6 separate regions of the Homo sapiens genome follow, and all the other regions are linked to region 1. The links are contacts of gene promoters, found by promoter capture Hi-C in blood cells and fetal thymus (Javierre and others, 2016). All regions are on one chromosome and are shown on one strand. Each heading gives the region's core, a stretch centred on a gene start or on the middle of the fragment in contact. The rest is flanking DNA. Distances are from core to core; before and after follow the strand shown.

The links. The method cuts DNA at HindIII sites, captures the fragments that hold promoters and counts their contacts. A CHiCAGO score of 5 or more calls a contact.
Region 2: a contact is called between a fragment that was not itself captured here and the fragment with the promoter of ZBTB39 in region 1, in 3 of 17 cell types (M2 macrophages, erythroblasts and M0 macrophages). The highest score is 7.5, in M2 macrophages.
Region 3: a fragment that was not itself captured here is called in contact with the fragment with the promoter of ZBTB39 in region 1 in 6 of 17 cell types (M2 macrophages, erythroblasts, M1 macrophages and 3 more); the score reaches 10.8 in M2 macrophages.
Region 4: a contact is called between a fragment that was not itself captured here and the fragment with the promoter of ZBTB39 in region 1, in 4 of 17 cell types (M2 macrophages, endothelial precursors, M0 macrophages and 1 more). The highest score is 8.5, in M2 macrophages.
Region 5: a contact is called between a fragment that was not itself captured here and the fragment with the promoter of ZBTB39 in region 1, in 14 of 17 cell types (erythroblasts, M1 macrophages, M0 macrophages and 11 more). The highest score is 11.8, in erythroblasts.
Region 6: a contact is called between a fragment that was not itself captured here and the fragment with the promoter of ZBTB39 in region 1, in 4 of 17 cell types (naive B cells, total B cells, fetal thymus and 1 more). The highest score is 6.9, in naive B cells.

The regions. Positions count from the first base shown.
Region 1 is chr12:57,005,291-57,007,990 of GRCh38, reverse strand. It overlaps ZBTB39 (zinc finger and BTB domain containing 39), which reads left to right and starts at 1,445. Exons shown (of 2, transcript NM_014830.3): 1 at 1,445-1,586. RefSeq lists silencers at 1,247-1,606, 1,627-1,776. The HindIII fragment of the contact is 1,523 bases long and covers 1,164-2,686 here.
Region 2 is chr12:56,650,896-56,653,595 of GRCh38, reverse strand. No RefSeq gene overlaps it. Among named protein-coding and RNA genes, the nearest start is that of ATP5F1B, 6.3 kb to the right of the region's middle. The HindIII fragment of the contact is 2,056 bases long and covers 300-2,355 here.
Region 3 is chr12:56,743,976-56,746,675 of GRCh38, reverse strand. It overlaps PRIM1 (DNA primase subunit 1), which reads left to right. Exons shown (of 13, transcript NM_000946.3): 5 at 495-631; 6 at 2,553-2,611. Among named protein-coding and RNA genes, the nearest start is that of PRIM1, 7.0 kb to the left of the region's middle. The HindIII fragment of the contact is 6,831 bases long and covers 1-2,700 here.
Region 4 is chr12:56,670,829-56,673,528 of GRCh38, reverse strand. It overlaps PTGES3 (prostaglandin E synthase 3), which reads left to right. Exons shown (of 8, transcript NM_006601.7): 2 at 464-577; 3 at 720-789; 4 at 1,682-1,780. Among named protein-coding and RNA genes, the nearest start is that of PTGES3, 16 kb to the left of the region's middle. The HindIII fragment of the contact is 1,450 bases long and covers 590-2,039 here.
Region 5 is chr12:56,723,732-56,726,431 of GRCh38, reverse strand. NACA (nascent polypeptide associated complex subunit alpha) reads left to right here and starts at 1,133. Exons shown (of 9, transcript NM_001365896.1): 1 at 1,133-1,169; 2 at 1,909-1,980. The coding sequence starts at 1,911. RefSeq lists enhancers at 1,058-1,187, 1,278-1,327, 2,387-2,506. The HindIII fragment of the contact is 3,564 bases long and covers 1-2,700 here.
Region 6 is chr12:56,514,988-56,517,687 of GRCh38, reverse strand. No RefSeq gene overlaps it. Among named protein-coding and RNA genes, the nearest start is that of SNORA105C, 3.5 kb to the right of the region's middle. The HindIII fragment of the contact is 2,003 bases long and covers 258-2,260 here.

The sequences.
Region 1 (2,700 bases), core at 196-2,695:
TGTGAAGTTTATTGGGGTCAACCCTCCAGAGATGGCTGGGGCAGTTGGTTAGAAAGACTGTATAGGCCCAGGCCCTTGCAAGCCCAGCAGCCCTCTGTCTCCAGAGTCATGCTGGAGGTCTGGACCTGCTGGCTGTGTGATATTCCACTTTAGGGAGACTCAGTCACCTTGCACAACTGTGAGAGCTGGGCCTGCCACTGAAACATTGTGTCAACCTCTAAGTGACCCTTTCACTAGATGGTAAAGTGAGATGCCTCATCCCCAAACTATAAGAACAGTTCTATGGCTGTTTTTGTATCTCCTGGCTAACAAATGTTACATGTTTGGCAGCATTTGGTATAGTGCTTGCTTTCAGTATAGTCTGCCACCAGTTAATGAGGTTGTGGAAAGGAGGACACACAATCTCCCAAATTCATCAAGAGAATGGACAATTGCTGAATGGCCAAACTGGCTTAGATCTGTTGGCAACATTCAGTGTGTCCCTTCCTTTCCACTTATCCATCAAGGAATTACTGAATCCTACCATGCGCCTGTCCTGGGAGTTTGTCCTTGGCTGCAAGCTATTTTCAGGCAGTGACTGGGATGGGATGGGAGAGAGGATGAAACTGAAGGGTCTTGGAGCCTAAGAGCTTCCTCTGTACTGAGGGAGGGAGGGCGACATGACGAAGACTTCTAATGTCTTTGGTGGTGGTGGGTGGGGCAGGCAGTGTAGGTGGTTTTCGTTTGATGACAATTCTTGGGCAGAAGCATTTGAAAAGATGATTTGGGAGAAGGGTGGGGAGGAAGAGTGATCGAGTTCTACACAGAGTTGGGGAGGGCAGGCTTCAGGAAGCAGGCCTGGGGTGCCAAAGTACAGTGAGATCCGGTGACTTTCTTCATTTGGCCACCTAGATGGAAGGAGGGACAGCAGTGGATTATCAGAAGGGTCCAGTAGTAGCGGTCTAGCCCTCAAGTGCTCCTTCATTCATTCAAGCAGGCTTAATGTATTAAGCACTTATTGTGCCAGGAAGTGTGGTAAGGGTCAGTGTGGACCTGCGGCCGTGTGCAAAGCCACAGATCCCTGCCTTCAGGAAGCCCACAGCCTAGTGGAGGAGATATATAGTAATCAAACAATCTTACAACATTTTGTAAAATGCCCATAGTAGATGTTCTGAGGAGAAGCTTTTGGAACTGTGAGCGTAGAACAGGGGAGGTGAAGAGAGTTTGGATAGGGTTTTTCACTCTTCAGGCACCAAGTCCCGCGCACAGTGGATGGGCGCTTAGAAAAAGCCAGCCTGGGGACTTGGAAGCCCCTGCACCCCTCGCGCAGGTCCTGGACCCGGCCCCGCCGTGGGGGGGCGCTGCCTCCTCCCGGGCGGCGGGGGGCGCTGCGGCCGGGCGGCGGGGGGCGCTGCCTCCTCCGGGACGGCGGGGGGCGCTGCGGGCCGGGCGGCGGGGGCGGCCCGGGCCGTCGCGGCGAGCCGCGCGGCGGATGGAGAGTCTGGCCGCGGCCGGCGGCGCCGCCTCCTCGTCGGGCCGGGCACGGCGGGCCGGGGCCTTTGTGTGAAGCGGCGGCGGCGATGGTGCTCGGGGCGCCGCAGAGCCGGGTAAGCGCGGCCAGGCCGAGGGCTGCCCCTGGCCGAAGCCCGACCTTCGGCCCGGCATTTATCTCGCTCTTGCTGGGGTCCCTCTTGCCCGCTCCCTTCGGCCGGACCCATCCTCCCCGCCCGCGCGCCGACCCCGGCCGGCCCCGCCGCCCCTCGCTTGGCCCCTTATTCAGCCCCATGCCCCCAACAGGCTCACCCGGGTGAGCCCCGCGCTGTTTGTGGAGGGACTGAGGCGCTCGTTGCCTCCAGAGGGAGCGCCCCAGCCGATGCAGCGCCCTTCCCTCCCAGATGCGACTCCGGAGGGGAGACCGCGGCGCCCGGGGATTGTTGGGGTGTCCTTGGAAGTTCCCAGCTTCCCCCTCTCCCACCCTCTCCTCTGGCTGCCCAGTGCTCCGACCCGCCCATCGTTCAGGGGTGGCCACCAGGGCCCGGGAGATGCTTGGCCGGTACCCCACAATACTTAGACGCTTCCTGGGCCCCAGAAAAAGTTGGGAGTTGTTAGAATCTGGAGAGATGGAGAAAGGGGCTGTGTTGGGCAGAGTTGTGAGACTGAACAGGGATGCAAGTAGCTCTTCTTCCTTAGTCGTGCAGGAGTCAGAAAGGGCAGAAAGTGGTAGTGAACAAGCCTCTAGGAGTCTTACCTGTATAATTAGAAGTCTTTCTTGCGGCATCAAGTAAATCTGTTAGTGCAGGGACAACAAAATATAAACCCCGAAAAGGGTGGCGAAAAAGAATACAACATATTAAAGTAATATTAAATACTACCACAGTTGTGTTCTACTTTTCTTACTGTGCATTCTGAGTGTTTTAACTTCACAGAATACAGGGACTGTGATAAAGCAATATCTGGAGGGGCTCTGGGTTATCGAAAGGCCAGAGAGCGGGTATGTAGTATAGGCAGAGAGAGATGGGGATTCAAGAACGTGAGATTTATTTGGAGATTATTGAGAGGTTGAAGACACAGCAATGACAAAGCTAAAAAACGGAACCACCTTATATGTTCCTCAGTAGCTAGTGGAGCTTTGATAGTTGTGTTCAAGCATGTGCATGGTATTTGGCATCATGAGGGAAAAGAATATGCTCAATGAATTAGGAAAGCTTGTATTTGGGAGGA
Region 2 (2,700 bases), core at 78-2,577, 350 kb after region 1:
GATTGGGGAAGTGATAAATGTACATGAAATCTTCACAATTTCTGTTCAGAGATTGCAGTAAAAACAGGCGTAAGAAATTATAAAAGTATTAATTTGGGGAACTAATAAATGTCCATGAAATCTTCACAATTTATGTTCTGCTGTGGCTTCAGCCGGTCCCTCCGTTTGGGGTCCCTGACTTCCCGCAACAATAGGGTTTCCATTTTTATGAGAATCTAATGCCATCACTGATCTGACAGGAGGCAGAATTCAGGTGGTAACGTGAGCAGTGGGGAGAAGCTGTAAATACAGATGAAGCTTTGGTCACTCGACCACAACTCTCCTCCTGCTGTGTGGCCTGGTTCCTAACAGGCCATGGACGGGTACTGGTCTGTGGCCCAGGCACTGGGGAACCCTGCATTATATGTATATGAAACAGAAAGTGAGTGGAATGTATGCAAAAAGTTTTTTCAATGGTCATTTTTGGGAAGGACAGTGGAAGTTTTGGAAGTAATGGTGAAAGAACTCATCCTGTACACCTAGAATATGTTCATATGTTACTTGTGTAATAAATAGTGCTTCCAAATTGTGACCTAAGAAAGGAATATTGGATTTCTGAAAGAGAATATTTCAACTTGGGAATGGCTGTGGAAGTAGGCTGCTTATGTGAAATGGGAATGTGAAAAACTAATTGGAATTGAAGTGGTTGAGGATCTCTGAAGCCAGGGCATTGAATGGGTTCTTTTCGTGGAATTTGAAATAATCCGGGATGATTGTCAAGAAATGTAGTAGAGACCAAAAAAACACATTCCACCAATTACCAGAGTACTGGAAGGATGTGGGGGTATGACCAATGTGGATAGCAGTAATGAAAGGATTTGGTGGAAAATGTAATTTTCACTTCAAGATGAATTTTAAATTACAGAGCACAGTCATTTGGAATTAACTTCAGATAAGAAACCAGATTGGGTGGGTCTGTGTGGTTCCTATTCCCCTGTGAAAAATAACTTGTACTTTTTTTTTTTTTTTCCATTCAGGTTCCATTTATTTTTGACATTTTTACATAACCATCCTTGCAGGGGTAACTCCTGCATCACTCTAGAACTTCAGGTTCCGTCCCTCTCCCTCTCCCTCTCCCCCTCCCCTCCCCCTCCCCTCCCCCTCCCCCTCCCCCTCCCCTTCCCTCTCTCCATGGTCTCCCTCTGAAGCCGAGCCGAGGTTGGACTGCACTGCCGCCATCTCGGCTCACTGCAACCTCCCTGCCCGACTCTCCTGCCTCAGCCTGCCGATCGCCCGGGACTGCAGGCGCGTGCCGCCACGCCTGACTGGTCTTTGCTGGAGTGCAGTGGCATGATCTGGGCTCGCTACAGCCTCCACCTCCCAGCCTCCTGCCCTGGCCTCCCAAAGTGCCGAGATTGCAGCCTCTGCCCGGCTGCCACCCCATCTGGGAAGCGAGGAGCGTCTCTGCCTGGCCGCCCATCATCTGGGATGCGAGGAGCCCCTCTGCCCTGCCGCCCAGCCTGGGAAGTGAGGAGCGCCTCTTCCCGGCCGCCATCCCATCTGGGAAGTGACGAGCGTCTCTGCCTGGCCGCCCATCGTCTGAGATGTGGGGAGCGCCTCTGCCCCGCCGCCCCGTCTGGGATGTGAGGAGCGCCTCCGCCCGGCCACGACCCCGTCTGGGAACTGAGGAGTGTCTCTGCCTGACCGCCACCCCGTCTGGGAGGTGAGGAGCGTCTCTGCCCGGCCGCCCCGTCTAAGAAGTGAGGAGCCCCTCCGCCCGGCAGCTGCCCCGTCTGGGAAATGAGGAGCGTCTCCACCTGGCAGCCGCCCCGTCTGGGAGGGAGGTGGGGGGCAGCCCCCGCCCAGCCAGCCGCCCCGTCCGGGAGGGAGGTGGGGGGCAGCCCCCGCCCGGCCAGCCACCCCGACTTGTACTTTATATAAAATATCACTTGGACAATCTGGGTCTCAATCAAGAAATACGTAGGAAAGGCCGGCCGCCGTGGCTCACGCCTGTAATCCCAGCACTTTGGGAGGCCGACATGGGCGGATCACGAGGTCAGGAGATCGAGACCATCCTGGCTAACACAGTGAAACCCTGTCTCTACTAAAAAAAATACAAAAAAATTAGCCGGGCGTGGTGGCGGGTGCCTGTAGTCCCAGCGACTCGGGAGGCTGAGGCAGGAGAATGGCGTGAACCCGGAGGCGGAGCTTGCAGTGAGCTGAGATCGTGCCACTGCACTCCAGCCCGGGCAACATAGCAAGACTCCATCTCAAAAAAAAATATGTAGGACAAAAACATGTTACAACTCTAAAATAGATTACATTATTTATTCAGAATGCTGGTTAAGGCATATCTCAATCTGAGCTAATCAAGCTTATTCTATTTTAGACATTATTACTTATATTAATAAATTTAACTGATTTCAGAGGAGAGGGAGAGGAGGTTGTTAAAGGCCAACATTGATAGCAACAGAGTGAGAAAAATTAAGAGTTCACAAACTTCAGCTTAATGGTCTCATGGAGAAATAGCTCTTTTTTACTTTTAACTTTTTTTTTTTTGAGATGGAGTCTCCCTCTGTCGCCCAGGCTGGAGTGCAGTGGCGTGATCTTGGCTCACAGCAAGCTCCGCCTCCAGGGTTCACGCCATTCTCCTGCCTCAGCCTCCCGAGTAGCTGGGATTACAGGCGCCCACCACCACACCTGGCTAATTTTTTGTATTTT
Region 3 (2,700 bases), core at 201-2,700, 260 kb after region 1:
GTGTGTGTGTGTGTGTGTGTGTGTGTGTGTGTGTGTGTGTGTGTGTGTGACGAGTCTCACTCTGTCAGCCAGGCTGGAGTGCAGTGGTACAATGTCGGCTCACTGCAACCTCTGCCTCCTGGGTTCAAGTGATTCTCCTGCCTCAGCCTCCTGAGTAGCTGGGACTACAGGCGCACGCCACCACGCCCAGTTAATTTTTGTATTTTTAGTAGAGGCAGCGTTTCACCATGTTGGTCAGGCTGGTCTCGAACTCCTGACCTCGTGATCTGCCCACCTCGGCCTCCCAGAGTGCTGGGATTACAGGCGTGAGCTACCACACCTGGCCTAATAAAATAGTTTTTTAAAAAAGAAAGAAATTCCCAGCAGAGAGACCAGGATGGGTAAAGAGATGAAGCAAGAACATGGGGAGCACAGGAAACAACAAGTAATTTAATATACATTAATTAAGGAGTTTATAGATTTGTTTTAAAACCTATTATTTCTCTCTTCCTCAGAGGACTTTGGATTTAAGCATCGTCTCTGGGTATATTCTGGAAGGAGAGGTGTTCATTGTTGGGTCTGTGATGAATCAGTTAGAAAACTGTCTTCTGCAGTACGTTCTGGGATAGTTGAGTATTTGAGCCTTGTAAAGGTAAGATCCTCTTAATTCTAATTTGCATTGCTTTAGTTTCTAGATGTTACCAAGCCTGATATGTTTACTGTCAAAGAAAATGAAACTATCTTTTTTTTTTTTTTTTGAGATGGACTCTCACTCTGTTGCCCAGGCTGGACTGCAATGGCATGATCTTGGCTCACTGCAAGCTCTGCTTCCTGGGTCCAAGCAATTCTCCTGCCTCAGCCTCCCGAGTAGCTGGGACTACAGGCTCCTGCCACTGTGCCCAGCTAAATTTTGTATTTTTAGTAAAGACTGGGTTTCGCCATGTTGGCCAGGCTGGCCTAGAACTCCTAGCCTCAGGTGATTCACCCACCTCAGCCTCCCAAAGTGCTGGGATTACAGACATGAGCCACCACACTGGCCTAAAACTTATCTTTAATGGCATTCACATTGCAGAGTAAATGATCTTACCAATAGATCATTTAAAGTCATAGTAGCTACATGTTTTAAGATATTTCATTTTATTTTGCTATAAATATCTTGCTTTGTGGCATATGTAAAATAATAGATAAAATAGATTTATTATATATAAAATAATAGAACATGTTAAAGTTTGGTTTTGGTTTTGGTTTGTTTTTTTGGTTTTTTTTGTTTTGTTTTGTTTTGTTTTGAGACACGGTCTCACCCTGTCACCCAGGCTGGAGTACGGTAACGTGACCACAGCTCACTGCAGCCTTGACCTCCTGGTCTCAAGTGACCCTTCTACCTCAGCCTCCTGAGTAGCTGGGACTAAAGGCATGCGCCACCACGCCCAGCCAATTTTTTAATTTTTGCAGAAACAAGGTCTCACTATATTGCCCAGGGTGTTCTTGAACTCCTAAACTCAAACTATCCTCCCACTTCAGGCTCCCAAAATGCTGAGATTACAGGTGTGAGCCACTACATCCAGCCTACAAATTTTTTTTTTTTTTTTTGAGACGGAGTCTTGCTCTGTTACCCAGGCTGGAGTGCAGTGGCGCTATCTTGGCTCACCACAACCTCCGCGTCCCGGGTTCAAGCAATTCTCCTGTCTCAGCCTCCCAAGTAGCTGGGATTACAGGCACTTGCCACCACACCCGGCTAATTTTTGTATTTAGCCAGGCGTGTTGGCAGGTGGAAACAGGGTTTCATCATATTGGTCAGGCTGGTCTCGAACTCCTGACCTCAGGTGATCCGCCCGCCTCAGCCTCTCAAAGTGCTGGGATTACAAGTGTGAGCCACTGCGTCCAGCCCTAGAAATGTTTTAATTATAATTATGCATCACTTAACAATAAGGATACATCCTGAGAAATACATCACTTTGCAAAAGTCATGGAGTATACTTACACAGACCCAGATGGTATAGCCTACTATACATCTAGGCTATATGGTATAACCTATTGCTCCTAGGCTACAACCTGTACAGCATGTTACTGTACTCAATACTGTAGGCAATTGTAACACAATGATAGGTACTGATGTAGCTAAACATACCTAAACATAGAAAAGTCACAGTAAAAATACAGTATTGCAATCTTATGGGACCCACCATCTTTTTCTTTTTTTTTTGAGATGGAGTCTCGCTCTTGTCACCCTGGCTAGAGTGCAATGATGCGATCTCGGCTCACTGCAACCTCTGCCTCCCGAGTTCAAGCGACTCTCCTGCCTCAGCCTCCCGAGTAGCTAGGATTACAGGCATGCGCCACCATGCCCAGCTAATTTTTTGTATTTTTAATAGAGATGGGATTCAGGCTGGTCTTGAACTCTTGACCTCAGGTGATCCACCCACCTCAGCCTCCCAAAATGCTGGGATTACAGGTGTGAGCCACCGTGCCCACCATCTTATATGCAGTCCATCATGACTAAAATGTCGTTATGCTGCACATGACTGTATTTATATTGTATACCTGAAGTTCTTTTTTAATGATTTATTTTTCAGGGTGGTCAAGACGTTAAAAAGAAAGTTCACCTAAGTGAAAAAATTCACCCTTTTATCAGGTCTGTTGGAAAAGTCTCCAAGCACTTTAAGGTGTCTGATTTACCGGCATGTGCCTTTAGAGTTACCTTGCTATCAATTTTCACTGCTG
Region 4 (2,700 bases), core at 65-2,564, 330 kb after region 1:
AGCCACCGTACCCTGCTTTTTTTTTTTTTTTTTTTTTTTTTTTCCGTATTTGTATTTGTAGTAGAGTCGGGGTTTCGCTGTGCTGGCCAGGCTGGTCTCTAGCTCTCCTGGCCTCAAGTGACCCACCTGCCTTGGCCTCCCAAAGTGCTGGGATTACAGGTGTGAGCCACTGCACCCAGCCAAGTAACATAATTTTTGATAGGACTAGATAAACGGCTAACTCTACTAAGCATTGTTTGGTTTTTAAATCTTTCCTATTATGAAATTGGAATCATTCTGAAACTAAATCTTGTTAGACCCATAGGTTTTAACTTGGAATGTAGCTGTTAGGGTAAAAATGTAGTTTTTGTTTAAAATTGTAACAAACTGCCCTGAAATAATGCTATAATGGTGTCGAAGGTTAGTATGTGAATGTTTAGTTAATGAATTCCAGCTTGACTTTCCCTACTTTATCCTTTTGTAGGCAGCCTGCTTCTGCAAAGTGGTACGATCGAAGGGACTATGTCTTCATTGAATTTTGTGTTGAAGACAGTAAGGATGTTAATGTAAATTTTGAAAAATCCAAACTTACATTCAGGTAAGTTAAGCTTTTTATCCAATGATGTAAAATAGTCATTCACACAACTGAATAACTTTGACTGGCTTGTCTTTTCATTGAAGTTATTATTAATCTTTGTCTCTTTGAAGAGGCTTAATTCTTTCTTTATTATTTTATACAGTTGTCTCGGAGGAAGTGATAATTTTAAGCATTTAAATGAAATTGATCTTTTTCACTGTATTGATCCAAATGTAAGTAGTCTTTATGCTTTAATCCAAATTTTAGTTGTGAGGAAACAGACATACCAAGTATTCTTTTTAGCAATGAGCATTAGTTCTGTTTTTCTTAACAGTGAGGCAAACTATGTATATTTACATTTTGTAGAATATTTCCTCCAAAATTGGTTTCTGCATACTTTTTGTTTTTGCTATCACTGTTTGGGCTTAGAGTAGTATCCTTGAGGCTCGTCTCATCTTTTTTATTTGTTTTGTTTTTTTGTTTGTTTGGTTTTGTTCTTTGAGACTGCTGCAGTACAATGGAGCGATCCCGGCTCACTGCAACCTCTGCCTCGTAGGTTCCAGGGATTCTCCTGCCTCAGCCTCTGGAGCAGCTGGGATTACAGGCACATGCCACCATGCCTGGCTAATTTTTGTGTTTTTAGTAAAGACCATGTTGGTCAGGCTGGTCTCAAACTCCTGACCTCAGGTGTTCCACCTGCCTCGGCCTCCCAAAGTGCTGGGATTACAGGCATGAGCCACTGCGCCCGGCCAAGGCTTCCCTTATCTAAGAATAGAATCTTTAAACCATTCTGTGGTTATATCATTTTTAGTTAAAGTTTTTAAGGTTTTATTCTGTTTATCGTGTGCAGGAAAGAAAAAAATGGTACCAGGTTAAACTTTAAACTTTATTGTTGTGCAGATTATTTCAGTAGGAAATAGAAGGGAAAAAAAAATTTTTTTTTAAATGAAACTTAAAGGGGGTTGGGGCAGTTGGATAGTTTGAAGTTTTTAGTAGTCAAGGGCATGTTTCAGAGTCCAGAGAAAATTTAGGTAAAGAAATGAGAAAGGTGAGAAATGACAAGCTATTTTCTATCATGTAGTGATGCTGGAAAGATAAATGGTATGATGGTCCTTTTGTTTTTAGGATTCCAAGCATAAAAGAACGGACAGATCAATTTTATGTTGTTTACGAAAAGGAGAATCTGGCCAGTCATGGCCAAGGTTAACAAAAGAAAGGGCAAAGGTAGGTTTCATTTTCCTTTTTTGAAAAGTTTGATATTTTTATTTTAGGTAATAAAAGATGTACTTATTTGATGTAAGGAATATGGCTGTGTTTTTGTTTCACAGCTAAGTATAAAGCCTCATGTTCATGTTTTTTGTCTACTCAGTTTTAATACGAAGTGTGATCAGAATATCAGTTATTAACTGGTGTAGAATCTTTTGTACTTAAGAGACAGACTTTGCATAAATTACTCAGCTATCACATGGGAGGGGACAAAGCTTGGTGAAAAAATAATCAACTGAAAATAGTTCTTACTAGTAAATTTGTTTTCAAAAGGTATGTTTAACAATTTTCAGTGTTTTTTTTCCCCCAAAACAGGGTCTCTCTTTGTCACCCAGGCTGGAGTGCAGTGGCACGATCTTGGCTCACTGCAGCCTCAGTTTCCCAGGCTCCAAGTGATCCTCCCTCCTCAGTCCCCCAAGTAGCTGGGACTGTAGGGGCATGCCACAACACCTGGCTAATTTTTGTATTTTTTGTAGAAAGGGGTATCACAGTGTTGCCCAGCTTGGTCTTGAACTTCTGGGCTCAAGCAGTCTCCCCACCTCAGCCTCCCAAAGTGCTGGGACTACAGGCATGAGCCACGACACCAGCCTAGTCTTTTTTTTTAGGTAGTCTCATGCCACTCATGCCAGAGTGCACTGGTGTGAACATGGCTCACTGTAGCCTCCACCTGGGCTTAAGCGATCCTCCCACCCACCTCACCTCTCCAAATAGCTAGGATTGTAGGAATGTGCCACCACGCCCAGGAAATTTGTTTTTTTGTTTTTTCCCCAGATACAGGATCCACTATTGCTCAGGCTGTCTCGAACTCCTGAAGGATTACACAACTAGTCTTTCCACCTTGGCCACCCAAAGTGTTGGGGTTACAGGTGTGAGCCACC
Region 5 (2,700 bases), core at 79-2,578, 280 kb after region 1:
TGGCACACACCTGTAATCCCAGCTACTCGGGAGGCTGAGGCGGGACAACTGCTTGAGCCCTGGAGGCGGAGATTGCAGTGAGCCGAGATCGTGCCACTGCACTCTAGCCTGGCCGACAGAGCGACTCAAAAAAAAAAAAAAAAAAATCCAAGAAGTGCCCAAAATAGCAAGCAAAGGAATTGTATATGTGCCTATGTTCTTTTTTTCTGGGAAGGAGAATCTGCAGCTTTATAATTTCAACATCGGCTAAATTGTCGTGAACCTAAAACAATCAAAAGGGCCGGAATCTATTTAAAGAGTTTATTCAAGGGCAGTGTGAGGATGGACCAACCAGAAAACCTCCAAAGAATGGAGTCAGCCTTCAGAAGTAGAGAAGTTACGATTTCATTTATTTAGGGAGACAGAGGAGTTTTTAGCTGGATTACGTTATCCATACAAGGTTGGAACATAATTACAGAATTTGGTTACAAGAAGTGTTTTTTTTGGGGGGGGGGCGGGGGTACAGCTAACATTGTTTTACGAAGAGTTTAACACGCATGAGTTGCTGTCATCTGGTGACATCGTTTGAGTCTCTCTAGTCATTGAACAGAACAAGAAAAATCGAATTAAATTTATAATCTGAACTGAAGTTATATGTGACCCATCACATCTCTCAAGTTTTAAAATGGGTTTTTTTGTTGTTGTTGATGGGGGGGGAGAGGGTCCAGCAGCTTTTAAATGTTTTCACATCGTGTGTTCCAAAAATAACTGGTTAGCCTAAGTCACTTCCACCCTCCAATGTTGTGAATGCAGTCTCTAGCATTCGCTATTTAATGTCTTCTTCCTGCACTATTTGAGAAATCGCGAGGTCGACTTAATACCGCAGTCGCCACTTCGCGGACCGGAGGGCGGAGTCTGCTTAGTTCTGAGGACTGCGTGGGTCCGCGCAGAGAGCTCCTGCTAGGCCTGCGCGTCCCGTTCTAAATTCTTACCCTTTAGTCCTTGTCACCACCCCCGCCGTGGGAACGGCCTGACAGTCACTCGTCAAAGGAAGTGGCTGCCGGCAGCTCTTGACCCGGAATCGGATCCTAGTCCCACCCCCTCCGCTCCAGGCTTCCTTCTGCAACAGGCGTGGGTCACGCTCTCGCTCGGTCTTTCTGCCGCCATCTTGGTTCCGCGTTCCCTGCACAGTAAGTACTTTCTGTGCCGCTACTGTCTATCCGCAGCCATCCGCCTTTCTTTCGGGCTAAGCCGCCCCGGGGACTGAGAGTTAAGGAGAGTTGGAGGCTTTACTGGGCCACAGGGTTCCTACTCGCCCCTGGGCCTCCGGACAAAATGGGGTCTGCGGTTGGTGTCCTGGCAAAAGCAGGGTAGAAGGGCTGCGGGGCGGGCCCAGAATCCGAGCCTGCAGAGATGGGAGCAGTTGCAGTGTTGAGGGCGGAAGAGGAGTGCGTCTTGTTTTGGGAACTGCTTCACAGGATCCAGAAAAGGGTAAGGGGTCACAGCCTTAGAACCTGTAACACCGTTCTCCCTGTGACAAGCAAGTGTTGGACTTAAAACACCGTCTTTCCCCTCCTGGTACCCCAAAGTCGGCAAACGTAGTCCAGGAGGCCCCAGCCCAGCCAGTGTGAGTATTAGGAGTGGAGGGGGTTCACAGTAGCGTCTGAAGTCTCCCATGATCGAGAGCCAGCCCGGGATCCTCTCCCTCGGGTTGAGAATGCAGTGGGAATTGCTGGCCTTGATAGAGGCGTGAGGGTCACATCATATTTACCTCTTATTCCCAGGTGCTTTGGGGAAGGTTGTCACCAAACACCCTCACGATTTTTTTCTAACAGCCCTCCTCGGAGTTTTTAAGAATACTTATCTCCGGGTTGGGCAAGTGAATGTATCCCAATCAATTTAGGCCTCCTTTTTATTCCCTTCCTTCAGAAATGCCCGGCGAAGCCACAGAAACCGTCCCTGCTACAGAGCAGGAGTTGCCGCAGCCCCAGGCTGAGACAGGTAGGTTTCCCTACCCTCCTTGCCATTAATTAAAATTAACCCTAAAGCCATTTGGTGGGCAAAATGACCAAGGGGAAATACACTTTTTAGGAGGATGGGGTTGCAGCTTTACCAAGGAGGATAGACCGTAAAATTACTATCCTGGAGATACTTCTTTAGGGATTTGGAGTAAAAATAATATTTTTAAGATTCGTGGACGTTAAAAGTACCCTAGCTTGCTTTCTATGTTATGCCTGTCGCCTCAAAAGAAGCTCTCCTGTGGAACCCCCACCTCACATAGGAAAACTCAGCAGGGAATGGGCTCAGTGATTCTTACCTATTGGAACTAGATGACACAGGCCAAGGAGCCCGGAGCATTTGTGAAACTCCAGCCAGCAAGTTGCATCAAGGTTTTAGTTAGCAGAGCTTGGCATTGTGCCTTTATCACATGTCTGGATGAGATGTGTGCTGGTGGTAAATGTGTCCTACTGGGCCCCAGAGTCGTCCTAGGTCGGATAACTTGTTTATGGGTTGGTGGTGCTGAGATACTTCTAGTGTGCTGGAATAGTTCCTGCATCATTGTGTGAAACCCAGGATTGAAATAAATCCTTTTATCCTCAGCGTCGAAATTAACGACTGTGAAGGCTAATTTTAAATTCTGGTTAAAACATATCTCTGTAGAAAACTTAGGAGGAGGTAATGAAAAGTTCTTAAAATGATAGCCTTTCTGAGTCAGTTGTG
Region 6 (2,700 bases), core at 10-2,509, 490 kb after region 1:
TCGCTTGAACCTGGGAGGCAGAGGTTGCAGTGAGCTGAGATCATGCCACTGCACTCCAGCCTGGGCAACAGAGTGAGACTCTGTCTCAAAAAAAAAAAAAGCTGAGTTTATTTCCTGGTAAAAAAGATGAGATTATGTCTTAGGGAAAAGTAAAAAACAAAACAAAACAAACAAACAAACAAAAACAGTTTATTGAACATACCAGTTTCCTTAGGCAAGAAATGTTAATGAGCTACATCAAACAATAAAGCAAAGCTTAGCCGTGACCCCTTCTGATGTAGGATGGAATGACAAAATTGGTCTAAAACAAAAAATTGGAAAAGTTTGTCTTTTTACCTCTTTGACTTACCTTACTGGCAAACAAGGAAAAAGACAGCTCTGAAGAATTATTTCTTTCACACCTGGATATCAGTGCTAACAGGCCTCTTCTCCTATAGCAACAGATATTCCTGGACAAACATTGCTTCAGAGAATATTCTAATAAAATTGTCAAATGGACTTTTCCTTTGCCGGACGCTGAAGGAATACAGGAACCAAATCATTTAGAATCACTGGGCTAGAAAATTAGCATATTGTAGAAAGAAAAGACTAGAATGAATTCTATGTAACCCAGAATATACTACATTGATTTTATGGTGGTATTCATTGTATTCTCTTTTTATTTTTATTTTATCACCTACCAGAAAGATATATTCTCTAAATGTGTGTTTCCTTCACACCTGAGGCATTAGTTTTGCTTGGCCTTGGCCTCATCTATCCCTAAAATAAACAACTCAGATGATCCCAATAGGGCCCACAACTGATTCAACAATTAGGCTGAATCAAATGAAACTGCTGTCTCCATAGGTCAAATCTTAATCTTTTCATATCATTGAATACTAGCAATTTCATATGGTTAAATCTAAATATTGCAAGAAGTATGAGACTGCGGGGATGATAATGAGCCAAAACAGTAATTAATTGGATAGTTCCTTCCCCTTGTCCTCTCTCATTTTCAGATTAAAAAAACAAATCCCAGAGAGGCAAGCTCACTTACACAAGGTCATAGGGGTCAAATAGTAGCATAAGTGACACCAGAATCCAGATTTCTTCTTCTTCTTTTGTTTTTTTTTTTTTCTTTTTTTGAGATGGAGTCTCACTCTGTTGCCCAGGCTGGAGTGCAATGGTGTGATCTCAGCTCACTGCAACCTCCGCCTCCCGGGTTCAAGCAATTCCCCTGCCTCAGCCTCTGGAGCAGCTGGGATTACAGGCACATGTCACCATGCCTGGCTAATTTTTGTGTTTTTAGTAGAGACGGGGTTTCACCATGTTGGCCAGGCTGGTCTCAAACTCCTAACCTCAGGTGATCTGCCCTCCTCGGCCTCCCAAAGTGTTGGGATTATAGCTGTGAGCCACTGCTCCTGGCCAGAATTCAGATTTCTTGACTCAATTCTATCCTTTCTATTTGCCCGTAAAATTAAAAATTCCAGTAAATATGTACTTTGGGGTCAGAAATAATAAAGGAATAATCCTAGGAATCCAGAAGTGAAAGATTCAACTATTTTCCTCAAGCCAGCCCCTTACCTCAAGTAGTAGTCATATTCAATATTCTGACTTATTCTTAACTTACACACTGGGTAATATTTCTAGGGATAAACTTACAACACAAACAGCAAGAGGTTTGTTGAAAACCACATTTGCTGAGAAGCACTCCTAATGAAGATTCTACCTGAGTTTTGATTCACTATATATTTAGAAGATAATTTGCTTAAAATCTGATTTCCAGATAATTAGGACCATATCCTAAAACTCTCAGGTGAAACATAAGATTTAAATGTAAGGGCTGGGCACAGTGGCTCACACCTGTAATCCCAGCACTTTGGGAGGCAGAGGCAGGCAGATCACTTGAGGTCAGAAGTTCAAGACCAGCCTGGCCAACATGGTGAAACCCTATCTCTACTAAAAATACAAAAAATTAGCCAGGCGTGGTGGTGTGGCCCTGTAGTCCCAGCTACTCGGGAGTCTGCTGCAGGAGAATCACTTGAACCCAGAGGCAGAGGTTGCAGTGAGCCGAGATTGCGCTACTGCACTCTAGCCTGGGCAACAGAGGGAGACTCTGTCTCAAAAAAAAGAGAGAGAGAGAGAGAGATTTGAATGTAAGAAATAATTGTTTTTCTATTTTTCCTGTTCATATGGTGCTGAAAAAGTAATTGTTAAAATATAAATATACATTAGTTATAAGGTCACTAGTCATGAGCAGCCTTTACCAGAAGCATAAGCTTGATGAGGACAGAGACCATGACTGTTTTGTACACCATTATATCCTTAGCATTCAGGAGGACCTGGCTAATTTAAAATGTTAAAATATTTGTTAAATGAATAAATGGACTGTCTCAGAACACAAAATTTACATTTGAAAAAAATGTTACTAATTAAAAATGGTAAGACTGGGCGCAGTGGCTCACACCTGTAATCCCAGCACTTTGGGAGGCTGAGGTGGGTGGATCATGAGGTCAGGATATCGAGACCATCCTGGCTAACACGGTGAAACCCCGTCTCTACTAAAAATACAAAAAAAATGAGCCGGGCGTGGTGGTGGGCACCTGTAGTCCCAGCTACTCGGGAGGCTGAGGCAGGAGAATAGTGGGAACCCAGAAGGCAGAGCTTGCAGTGAGCCAAGATCTCACCACTGCACTCCAGCCTGGGCAACAGAGCAAGACT